Linked DNA regions of Homo sapiens: all the other regions are linked to region 2. Evidence: promoter capture Hi-C in 16 types of primary human blood cells and fetal thymus (Javierre and others, 2016). All regions are on one chromosome and are shown on one strand. Each heading gives the region's core, a stretch centred on a gene start or on the middle of the fragment in contact. The rest is flanking DNA. Distances are from core to core; before and after follow the strand shown. Region 1 overlaps LOC105375233 (a long non-coding RNA gene). Region 2 holds the start of EEPD1 (endonuclease/exonuclease/phosphatase family domain containing 1). Region 3 has its middle 53 kb from the start of MATCAP2.

What was found. The method cuts DNA at HindIII sites, captures the fragments that hold promoters and counts their contacts. A CHiCAGO score of 5 or more calls a contact.
Region 1: a fragment that was not itself captured here is called in contact with the fragment with the promoter of EEPD1 in region 2 in 2 of 17 cell types (M2 macrophages and endothelial precursors); the score reaches 5.4 in M2 macrophages.
Region 3: a contact is called between a fragment that was not itself captured here and the fragment with the promoter of EEPD1 in region 2, in 1 of 17 cell types (neutrophils). The highest score is 5.0, in neutrophils.

What each region holds. Positions count from the first base shown.
Region 1 is chr7:36,004,661-36,008,358 of GRCh38, reverse strand. The region is part of intron 1 of LOC105375233 (a long non-coding RNA gene); the gene reads right to left. Among named protein-coding and RNA genes, the nearest start is that of EEPD1, 150 kb to the left of the region's middle. The HindIII fragment of the contact is 2,199 bases long and covers 971-3,169 here.
Region 2 is chr7:36,151,975-36,155,691 of GRCh38, reverse strand. It overlaps EEPD1 (endonuclease/exonuclease/phosphatase family domain containing 1), which reads right to left and starts at 2,438. Exons shown (of 8, transcript NM_030636.3): 1 at 2,018-2,438; 2 at 490-1,559. The coding sequence starts at 1,367. RefSeq lists a silencer at 2,307-3,026. The HindIII fragment of the contact is 12,213 bases long and covers 1-3,717 here.
Region 3 is chr7:36,312,169-36,315,642 of GRCh38, reverse strand. No RefSeq gene overlaps it. Among named protein-coding and RNA genes, the nearest start is that of MATCAP2, 53 kb to the left of the region's middle. The HindIII fragment of the contact is 845 bases long and covers 1,030-1,874 here.

The DNA of each region.
Region 1 (3,698 bases), core at 821-3,320, 150 kb after region 2:
AAAAATTAGCCGGGCGCGGTGGCGGGCGCCTGTAGTCCCAGCTACTCGGGAGGCTGAGGCAGGAGAATGGCGTGAACCCGGGAAGCGGAGCTTGCAGTGAGCCGAGATTGCGCCACTGCAGTCCGCAGTCCGGCCTGGGCGACAGAGCGAGACTCCGTCTCAAAAAAAAAAAAAAAAAAAAATTAATAACATTTTAAGATAATATATACATAGGAAGTAATCAAAGCAACCATTTCTGGTGATTAGGTTGGGGTATTTGAGGGACTTTCACGTTCTTTGTTTATTTGTTTGTTTGTTGGTTTGAGATGGAGTTTTGCTCTTGTTGCTCAGGCTGGAGTGCAATGGCTTGATCTCAGCTCACTGCAACCTCTGCCTCCCGGGTTCAAGCGATTCTCCTGCCTCAACCTCCCGAGTAGCTGGGATTACAGGCGCCTGCCACCATGCCCAGCTAATTTTTGTATTTTTAATAGAGACGGGGTTTCACCATGTTGGCCAGGCTGGTTTCGAACTCCTGACCTCAGGTGATCCACCCACCTCAGCCTCCCAAAGTGCTGGAATTACAGATGTGAGCCATCGCGCCCGGTCTGGGATTTTCACATTCTATGTAATTCAACTCTGCATGTTCAAAATATTTTGAACCCGGAATTACAGTTGTAATCATAAATAATAATAAATATATAAATGACCATGGGTTATTAACATCCCACTGGTGCCTCTGCACAACCCTTGGGAGACAAGCCATTGCCTCTTAAGTGGGACAAAATCTTTTGATAATAATATTTCAGTTCAAAATAGTAAGTAATTAAGACATTTTAAAAAATCTAAAATACTGCCATTAATCAAATAATTCATTTTACAACAATGAAACTACATTTTTGAAACAGTGAGATTGTTTTTCTTTGCTGAATTATTTGGAACTCAACAAACGAATGTTCTCTAAGCAGGGTGTTTAACAGCACATAGTCAAGCTTTTCTTTCCCCCCAGCAAGTTCTGTCTTCCAAACTGCAGTCATTCAGCTGGTTTGCAAAGAGAAGAAGATCAACTTGAGGTTCAAGCCAGGACTTGGAGGCGGTAACGACTGTGAGGTGCGGGCCCTAAAACCACCCCATACCTGAATAAGACACACTAATTATGATATTCCAATGTGGTGGTTGTGGGGGGGCAGTCTGAGAGGCAACTATGCAAATAAGATACCCAAATATTGGTTTCATAACCCTTAAACTCCTCATCAGAATCAGGAGTGAAAAGGCTGATGGCAAGGACAGGTAGGGCTTTTGAAAAGGACTTTCAGCAGCGCTCTCTGTGTGCTGAGTCCCTCCCACTGGGTGCTTGGAAGCCTACTCTGCGTCTCAAGGCTTTGGAAGAGGGGCTTTAATGGGAGGGCTCAGAGTCTCCCTCTGTCTCCGCTGCCACCCACCGCAGTAGCAAAGCAGAAGAAAGCTCTGTGACCCTGGGTTGGATCAAAGGAACAGCAGAAATGAAGAACAGCTGCCAGATGCAGAGAGGAGAACAAAACTTGGCAAAGAAACTAATTTAGAGAAGAGTTGATACTAAAAAACCTCCAGGAATTCAGATAAATCTTGCCACAGCTCTGTACTTCTACAACCAATGGGAAAATGTTTGAATCAATCTTATCTAACTCTGAAAAGGTCCTGAGACCCTGGTTGATATCTAGGTTATACCGTATTAGTTAAAAACACCACATCTTTGCAATGAGGAGCTGCCTGGCATAGCTCTCCGTGAGGCACCGAGATGATGCCACTTTCTCATAAACACACAGGTGTCAGACCCTCTCCCACTGGCTGCTGGGGGAGATGGGGCAGATGGAAACTTGGCTGAGACTGTAAGGAACCCGTGGAGTCAGGGTTGTTAGAGAAACCTTCACAACTCCTCTTTTGGAGGCCACCAAAATCCACAGAGGTCCAAGAACCAAAGATTAAGCTCTTTAGTTGCAGAAAGTCTAAACCAGTCATGAAAACTAGGCCCCAACCCAGATATCTGAAGGCAAAATATGGAATCAGGGGTCTTTAAGCCTCCTGGGAACACTGTGGAACAGCCACTTGTGTGTGCACCCAGTGATGAAGGACTGGTCTTGTACAGTCAAGCAATGATGAATGAATTATCTATTCAAGCCAAGAAACTAAGTCATAATCATTAATACTGTAAGACTAACTCCTGGCTCATCCACATGGGCCATTAGCAGTCCCAAGTACATACAGTGAGAAACACCATCCTTCTAGATAAAGACTAGGGAAGGAGATAACTCAGCAGTTTTCTGCCATAATGGGGATCTGAATAATACAAATATTTGACATTTGTAGATGGTGTGCAATGATCTCAATCCTCTTATCTAAGCCTTGCTGGAGACAGCACTTGTAACATCTACATGATTTTTCATCTTCTCTCCCTTCCTCTACTTTGGTGAATATGTTCACCAATAGAACTGTCTGAGAAAAGGGGATGAAAGGAGGGCAGAAAAATAGCCATCCATAAACAGGATGACCAGTTTCCATGTTACCAAAAGCCATCCATCCTGTGTAGTGTCAAGATCCTTGTAAGCCACTGCTATGTTTTAAGCAGGCAATGTTGATATCAGACCCAGCAGTGATGAAGCTCTTGTTCTTAAATTCCACATGCAAAAGAGGCACACAATTCTTTTGTATTTATATTTATATATGTTACATTTATTTAATGTTTCCATTATCAGACTCTTAAAAGTAATGAAAAACTATTAAATCTATTAAATATCAATTTACCAGCTGTAGCGAGGAATAGCCACCACTGACATGGCCTAGACAGTGTGTGACCTTTTGGAACACTCAGATTGCTTTCCCAAGTGCCCGCAAGTGGGAGGAGAAAGGAAACGTGCTATACAGATGCTGCTTCCTCCCTGGTCTACCTCCTCACTCTATGGTTTGAAATCAAATGTTCTGTGTCTTGAGATGAAATTCAATGGGTAGGTCAGAGCTGGCTGGTTCATAGCAGCAGCTTGACTTGGCAGCAAATTGAACCTGTTTGGAATGTGGAGAGGTAAAGTTTACAAAATGGGTATACTCAGAGTGTATTACTTATTTGATTTCACTGTCTGGTTTGATTCCTTACATCCTCCCTATGATAGGCAGAAAGTGGTACTATTATCCCAATTGTACAGAAAGTGTTACTGAAGCTTATGAAGGTTACAGAATAGTTCAAATTCAGAACCATGCTTTAAACCCAAGTAACTGCAAGGCCAGTGCTCTTTCTATGCCCTCTCTTCCTCATTTCCTCTTGTCCCAAAAGGGGGCTAAATGTGGCCCCTGTCAGATACTGTACCTCTTTTCTTTCCTGCTACCCTGATCTCTTATTTACTGATGAATTATTTATTCTCTGAGCATTTTCTCCCCAATATATTTAAAAACAAAATTTTTAATTGTGGTAAAATATACATAACATAAAATTTACCGTCTTTTTTTTTTTTTTTTTTTTTTTTGAGATGAAGTCTTACTCTGTTGCCCGGACTGAAGTGCAATGGTGTGAGCTCAGCTCACTACAACCTCCACCTCCCAGGTTCAAGCAATTCTCATGCCTCAGCCTTTCGAGTAGCTGAGATTACAGGCATGTGTCCCCATGCCTGGCTAATTTTTGTATTTTTAGTAGAGATGGGGGTTTCACTATGTTGGCCAGGCTAGTCTTGAACTCCTAGCCTCAAGTGATCCTC
Region 2 (3,717 bases), core at 1,189-3,688:
TTTTGGTAAATATAGACACTTGTATGTGTTTGCAAATACTTGGCCTTTAAGATGATTTTGTGTGCACAAATAGGCATATTTGATGGAACAAATATGATTTTCCCTCCCATTAATAAACAAAATCCAATGAGCTCTTTCTCACATGCGAAACTGCACCAGTTCCCATGCTCTGAGTGCCTGACTTGGTGTAGACCCAGCATCCTCCAAAGCAGTAACAAAAACACAACCTCTGCTTACCCCAAAATTATGAATCAGTCTCAGATATCTCACACTCAAGACATGGGTCACAAGCCCAGCTGTATTCAGAAAATTCTGGAGCAGAAGGACAGCCCATTCTCAGGTGACGGTATTGGCTGAGGCTTCAAGAACATTGATTAAAAACTCTTGCACCCTCCCTACCCGCAAAAGAATCCATTCATTTGCATCCATAGATGAGGTCACGCACAAGTTGCCTTCACACCCAACACCCATGGTGGTTCCTGTCCTCACCTGTTTTCCAGGAGTGTCATGCACACCACCTCTCGCACCCCGGGGTTGTTGGCCTTCTCCACGGAACAGCCCTGCAAGTTCCAGGTGGCCAGCCTCAGCACAGGCCTCCCATCCCTTGTGCCTCCAAAGGCCTCCACGGACGGCCGAGTGGAGATAATCTGGGTGGGCCCCCCTGGCGGCAGGTCCAGGTCCTCACTCTGCAGGCTCAGGGAAGTGGGGCTCGGGTGAGGCTTGGCGGTGAAGGTCAGTCCCCCGTTCGTGTGGGTGGATGGGGGCCTGGACCTCTCAGCAAACACCTGGTGCCGGATCCTGTCCAGGAAGGCGGCATTGATACCATCCATCCTCACTAGGTCCTCAACGCTGCGAAAGGGCCCATGCTCACGGCGGAAGTCCACGATGCTGAGGGCCATTTTCTCCGAGAGGCCTCGCACGCTCATGAGCTGGGCCGGGGTGGCTGTGTTGATGTTAACACGTGGGGTGAGGGGCACAGCTGTGGCCAGGTGGTGAGGCTGCTGCTCCGCTAGCAGGTCCCGCCGCAGGGAACTGGGAGAGTGCTGCGCTGAGCTGCCCTTGCTGCTCACACAGATCTCAAACTTGACCTGCTCCAGCTTGGTGGCGCCTACACCACTGACCAATGCCAGGTCCTCCACCTTCTTGAAGCCACCGATATACTCTCGGTACTCCACGATGCTGCGTGCCACGGCACGCGTCACCCCAGGCAGGGTCATCAGCTCCTCCTCCGTGGCAGTGTTGATGTTGAGCCGCTCCTGATTCACTAGAATGTTGCTGAAGTTACAGGCTGCGCTGAACTTGCGGCTATGGGACAGGTCCGAGGGGTCCCTGGGGATGGAGCGGTGGCAGCCCAGGGTGCTCCCCATGGTCCGCCAGGATCAGGCTCCCGGGAAGGCCGCACCACTGCAGAAGAGCTCTCTGGCTAGGGAGGAAGCCCAGTAGGCCGTACAAGCACAGAAAAACGGAAGGTGCAGGATTCAGGGACTGAAGAGGTTACTATAGACAAACACCGAATCTTCCATGCCTGGCGTGTCCAAAATTACCTTTCACTTGGCCGCCTAGAAAATAAATCAATAAACATAGAAACCCATTGAATTAAGAAATTTGCATTAGCACCCCCTACCTAGTGCTAGAGTTAGTAACCAGGAGTCGGGGACTGGTGGCTGCCCGTGAACCCCTAAAAACGCAGGCACAATGAGGCTAGGCCCATGTGGATTCTCCTCTAGGGACGTCCGGGTTTTATCACACTGGAGTCCAAAAAGGCTACGAGCCGCTTCTCTTGGGAAGAGACCTATCCCCATCAGCCTCATGCCTCTCCTCCAGGCCTCTCTCAACTCTGACACTTGGGTCACCCACACTTGGGCTCGCGCAGACGGGGTGGCCACTCCACCTCCCCCACGCTCCGCATCTGACACAGCGCTACCTGCAACCTGGGAAGTCCGTGCTCCCCGGAGCGGGCACTGAGAAGGGGCTTATCGACCCCCCACCCGACCTGCCGCGGGTCCCCGCGCCCCACCTCTCGGCCGCTCTGCGGGGCGCCGGTTCCTCTTCCACCTGCGGCTCGGAAGCCTGAGCCCAGCCCGGGACAGCACGGGCCCCCTGCCTCCAGCCTAGGCGTCCGCGCGGGTGTGGGTCACTGGTCAGGCCCTGGAAGCCGACTACGCCGCTTCGGTCTGCGTGTCCCGGCTCTTTCTATGGGAGAAACTTAGCATCGCTCTCCCAGAGTGAATAGAAGCCGCAGGGCTGCTCGGAGGCGGCGGCAGCGGCGGCGAAACCCGCCGCCGAGGCTGCACCGGGGCTTGCGGCGGCGCCGCCGCAGTTGCGTTTACCCCGGCAAAAAGTCCTGCGCCCAACTCGGGCGGGGATCCGCCAGAGCCAGTCCAGACCCAGCACCAGCCGCACGGCTCCCGCTCGCAGTCGGTGTCAAAGCCAAAGTCCCGGCCGCGCCGCGCCGCGCCGCTCGCGCCTCCGCAGGCACCGCGGCCACGCCTCCTCCGCGCGGCAACTCCTCCCCGGGACTCCCGAGGGCACGTGGGGGAGGGGCCCTGGCGCGGGGCGAGGCCTGGCACCAGTGGGTGGAGAGAGGAACCCGAGAGCGCAAGGGCGGGCCTGGAGTGGGAGAGGCGGGGCCATGGAAGAGGGGGCGGCATCAAGGCTCAAGAGGGTGGAGAACGAACCAGAGAGCGCGAGGGGAGGCCCTGGCGTGCGAGAGGAGGAGCCATGGGTGTGGGGGCGTGGCCTGGCACAAATGGGTGGAGAGCAGAACCCTGGAGCGCGTGGGGCGGGCCTGGAGTGCGAGAGGCGGGGTCATAGAGTGTGGGAGCGGGGCCAGGGCGCGATGGGGTAGGAAAAGCGGGGGCGGGGCCATGAGCGCGGGGGTAGGCCCCGGGAGCGCAGAGGCGGGACTTAGGGGGCTTAAGGGGCGGAGCCGGCGCCGTGCCGGCGAGGGCGGGTCACAGGGAGGCTGTCCTAAGTCAGCTGCCCCCGGACCATGGTTGCCGCCCGGGGCCTAGGACTGGTTGTGCCTGGTAGAGGCTGTTTAGGATTGCCCGAGGCGAGATCTGCTCAGCTGCTTTTCGTCTGTCTTTGAGGTGTGGGGATGAAGGCCGGGGCAGTCCCTGAGAGTGCATCGCTGTAGGTCCAGGGTCTCACGGAATTTTGCAGAACGTTCCAGAGGAGACTGAATGGGATCGTCTTAATTTCTGTCCCCACTTTCGGCCTTTTCTTTTCTTCCACCAGTGTATTACCTTTGCTCCGCTCAGAGAGATGTCCTCTAATAACGCCAGCGACGCATTGTGCTCCTAGCAGAGGGCACGCACCACCCTCCTGTGTGTTCGCATAGGTCAAATACAGGTTTGCTCCTTTGCACATTTAGCGCTGTGAGTAAACAAGGATAAGTTTTTGTAATATTAAGTCTAATCATTACGAAGGAGGGAAATGGGGGCTGCTTCCCAAAACCCAGAAGAGTTTTTGCATCACACTGCTAAATGACAATTTGGTTAAAGATTAAAGAGCCCTCTGCATTATAGTGGATACCTAGAGCTAGAGTATTCGATTAAGCAAATCATGCGGTGATATCGTTGAATACTTTGACCCTGGACGTTTAGTGTTCTCTGAAGTTTCATCCCCAACCAATGTGACCAGTGCATCTGGTTTCAATTCCAAGGACTGGGTCAGCAAAAATAGTACCTCTCACAGGCGGAAGGTACTTTGGTT
Region 3 (3,474 bases), core at 203-2,702, 160 kb before region 2:
TTAGCTCAGTAAAACTCGAGTCCCTAATGCCCTCCCAACAATAATAATTTAATTAAATAATTTGTCGCAATAGAAGTCAGCAGAGTACTTGGGAAATGGCATCTTCCATCACTGACTACTGGCAATTGGCCAGACACCAAAACCAAAAGCTGCAGGGCAATCCTGCCTTATGTGGTTTGACCCTGAAGGTCAGGGTTGCCCCTACTCTCACTGGTGGCCTCTCTCATGCCCAGCAAACTCCTTCCAACAAGGGTCCCCTTGCCTATTTTCAGTGGTGGTTTAAACTCTGTGCCCCCCACTTCTGATGGGGCCCTGACATCTGAACTTGTCCCCCTGTATGGTGTTGGCTCCCACAAAGGGGCCTCCTCATGCTTGGCTGGGGACCGTCCACCCCTGGACACTGCTCAGCTCTGCACAGAAGCCAGGATTGAAAGACATCCTCCAGACTGTAGAAAATTGCCCCCATCCCCAGGGCATGTTCTGCATTTCTCAGTGCCATCCTGCTCACAGATTTGGGTGGTCTGGGAACTCCCCAAACCTTTCCATCCACATTGCACTCCTGTCTTCCCTAGAGACACTTGGCCACCACTGAAGATAATGATGGTGGTGACGATTTCATGCCAAATATATTTCATTTAATCTTTATGACAATATTAAAGGTAGTAGACATACCTCCATTTTTCAGGTAAAGAAACTGAGAGGCTCAGAGGGGTCGAGTGACTTTCCCAAAGTCACACCAATAGTAATTTCCGGAAAGGATCTGAACAGGAGTTTGGGCTCATAACACCCATTATAGCCATGCTCTTAGTGCTACCCAGGGCTTCCCTCACTCTCTTCCTGTCAATGCCCTGAAACTTGCTTCAACCTCCAGCTCCACCTGGCACCTTTCCAGGGACCCACTCCCAAAGGGTGGGTAAATGTCACCCTAGCTCTGATGCTCAGACGCAGAGATACTGCAGAGAGGATGGGGTAGTGGTGGTGGAAGAAAGCAAGGAAGGGAGAGGACACCCTTGAGGTGAGAGACAAGCTTCACTGGTAACCCCAGGGTTTCTCTGCTCTCTGCTCTCTCCCTCCCCACATCAGGATCTGCCCTGGGTGACAAGACCAAGGGAGGTGAGCTGGTGGAGACCGGCACCATCCCAGGTCTCCCTCAGCCTATTTGTTGCTGCTCTTGGCTACAGAGCCTTCTTTGGGGAGGCGGGCAGAGCCACATTCCACCTGACTTTGTGGGGCTGAGTAGTTCTCCTGCATTCCCTCTCTGAACTTCATTCATTCATTTGCTTCTCCAATGCCATGATGTGCCAGGTTCTGGGGATACAGACATGATCATCTATTAGTCTCCTAGGGGTGTCATAACAAATTACCATCAATTGAGAGGCTTACAACTAGAGAAATTTATTCACCCATGGTACTGGAGTCAGGGAGTCCAAAATCAAGGTATGAGCGAGGCCACTCCCTCTGAAGCCTGCAGGGAGGACCCTGCCTCTCCTCTTCCAGCCTCGGACGCTGCTCCGCAGTGTTCCTTGGCTTGCAGCTCCATCACTGTAATCTCTGCCTCCGTGGCCACTTGGCCCTCTCCCTGTTTGTTTCTGTTTTTTCTTCTTCTTATATGAATACTAAGTCATATAGGATGAAGGGCTCACTCTACTCCAGTAGGACCTTATCTTAATTGTGTCTGCAATGACCCTATTTGCAAATAAAGTCACAGTCTAAAGTACTAGGGGTTAGGATTTTAATATAAATTTTGAGGGGACACATTTCAGCCCATAAGAAAAGGTAACAGCCTCCCTGCTCTTAAAACATCATCATGATCAATCATCACCATCGTCATCATCATCATCATCATCATCGGGACTGTCATCTTCAGGTAAGCTTCCCTCTACTTCTCTACATGTGCAGTCTGGCTGGGAGGCAGGCCTGACAGCCGAGGCACTCCACGGTTTGATGTGTGTTCTCATAGAGGAATGTCCCACCCTTGACGGGAGCACAGCAGACCCATCATGGAAGGCTCTGGAAGGGCAGGTTTCCCCACCCGCTCCCAACTGCCTGGGCAGTTGACCTATAGGCACCCTAGTTCAACTTGTCCAAAACGGGGATTAGCATCTTCTCCCCAAACCTGGCTCTTTTCCTGAATTTTTCTTTTTTCTTTTTTTTTAAACCTAACAAAGATCAACTTCTTAGAAACCTGAAGCTGGTCAGGGTGGAGGCAGAACTCGAACCCATGTCCTTGTGACACTCAACAGTGTCCCAATAGCCCACCTCTGCACTTGCTTTCCAGCCCCTCAGGCCTTTCTCTGAGACTAGTGTGACCAACCTGGCCCCCACCAGCTCTGCTAACACCTTAGCCGAAGGACCGCACAATAATATGCCGGCAACGAGAGCCATCCCCCATCCCTGCCCCGATACCTGCGCCGCTCCCGGCACTGCGGATGCAGGCCCCCTCCTCTACCTGTTCCTACTCCCACACAAGCCTGCAATGCTCCCCAGCGCCGCAGAACCACCTCAACATCCTTAGCCTGCCTTGGAAGAGCTGGCCTGTGGCTCCCGTCAGTCTCCTCTCCATATCTCGTCCTAAGCTCTTGCCAGGAGCAGCCACATCACTGCTGTCCTCCCTCCACACCCCGGCCCTCCTGGTCCCCTCTTCCGGGGATGCCATCTGCTACTCACCCGGTCAGGTCCCCGCTCAAGGGGACCTCTCCCAGGAAGACTCCTCAGACTCGCCTCCAGCTGAGCAGGTTCTCCCTCCTTCCTCAGGTTCACACAACACTCTTTATCTCCGCTGCAAACGTTTTTCTGCATTTATTCTTAATTGTGAGCCTCCCTCTAAACTGTTAAAAGCCAGGCCACAGGTGTCGGAGCTGAGCTGGAATCCTGACTTTGTTGCCTCCTGGCGGCGAGGCCCAGGTACTGGTTACTTATCTTCTGAGTTTCGGTTTTCTTTTCTGCACCATGGGGCTGAGGTGAGGTTTAAGGCGCCTTGCCAGGTGTGTGGTGCTGACAAGGCTGGCAGCGAGCACCTGTTCACTTCGGTGCCCTCCCTTCTTCCCCTAAGGAATACCTCCCCACCTCTTTTCCATCTGCTGGACGCCCCGCCCTCAAATATGGGTTCTTGTAGACCTTGTGGGTAGTGCTGGGCTCTTCTCTGACAGAGACAAACATCTCTGGGGCCTGGCAACTGGGGAAGGGACTGATTGTCAGGCAGGAGGTGGCACTCAGAGGCTGGGCACAGTGGCCCCCACCTGTAATCCCAACACTTTGGGAGGCCAAGATAGGAGAATTGCTTGAGCCCAGGAGGTCCTGACCAGCCTGGGCAACATAGGGAGACCCCATTTCTACAAAAACTGGGGGAAAAAAATAACCTGTGGGGTGGTTGAGTGCCTGTGGTCTCACCAGCTACTTGGGAGGCTGAGGTGGGAGGATTGGTTGAGCCCAGGAGGTCGAGGCTGCAGTAAGCCATGCTTATACCACTTCGCT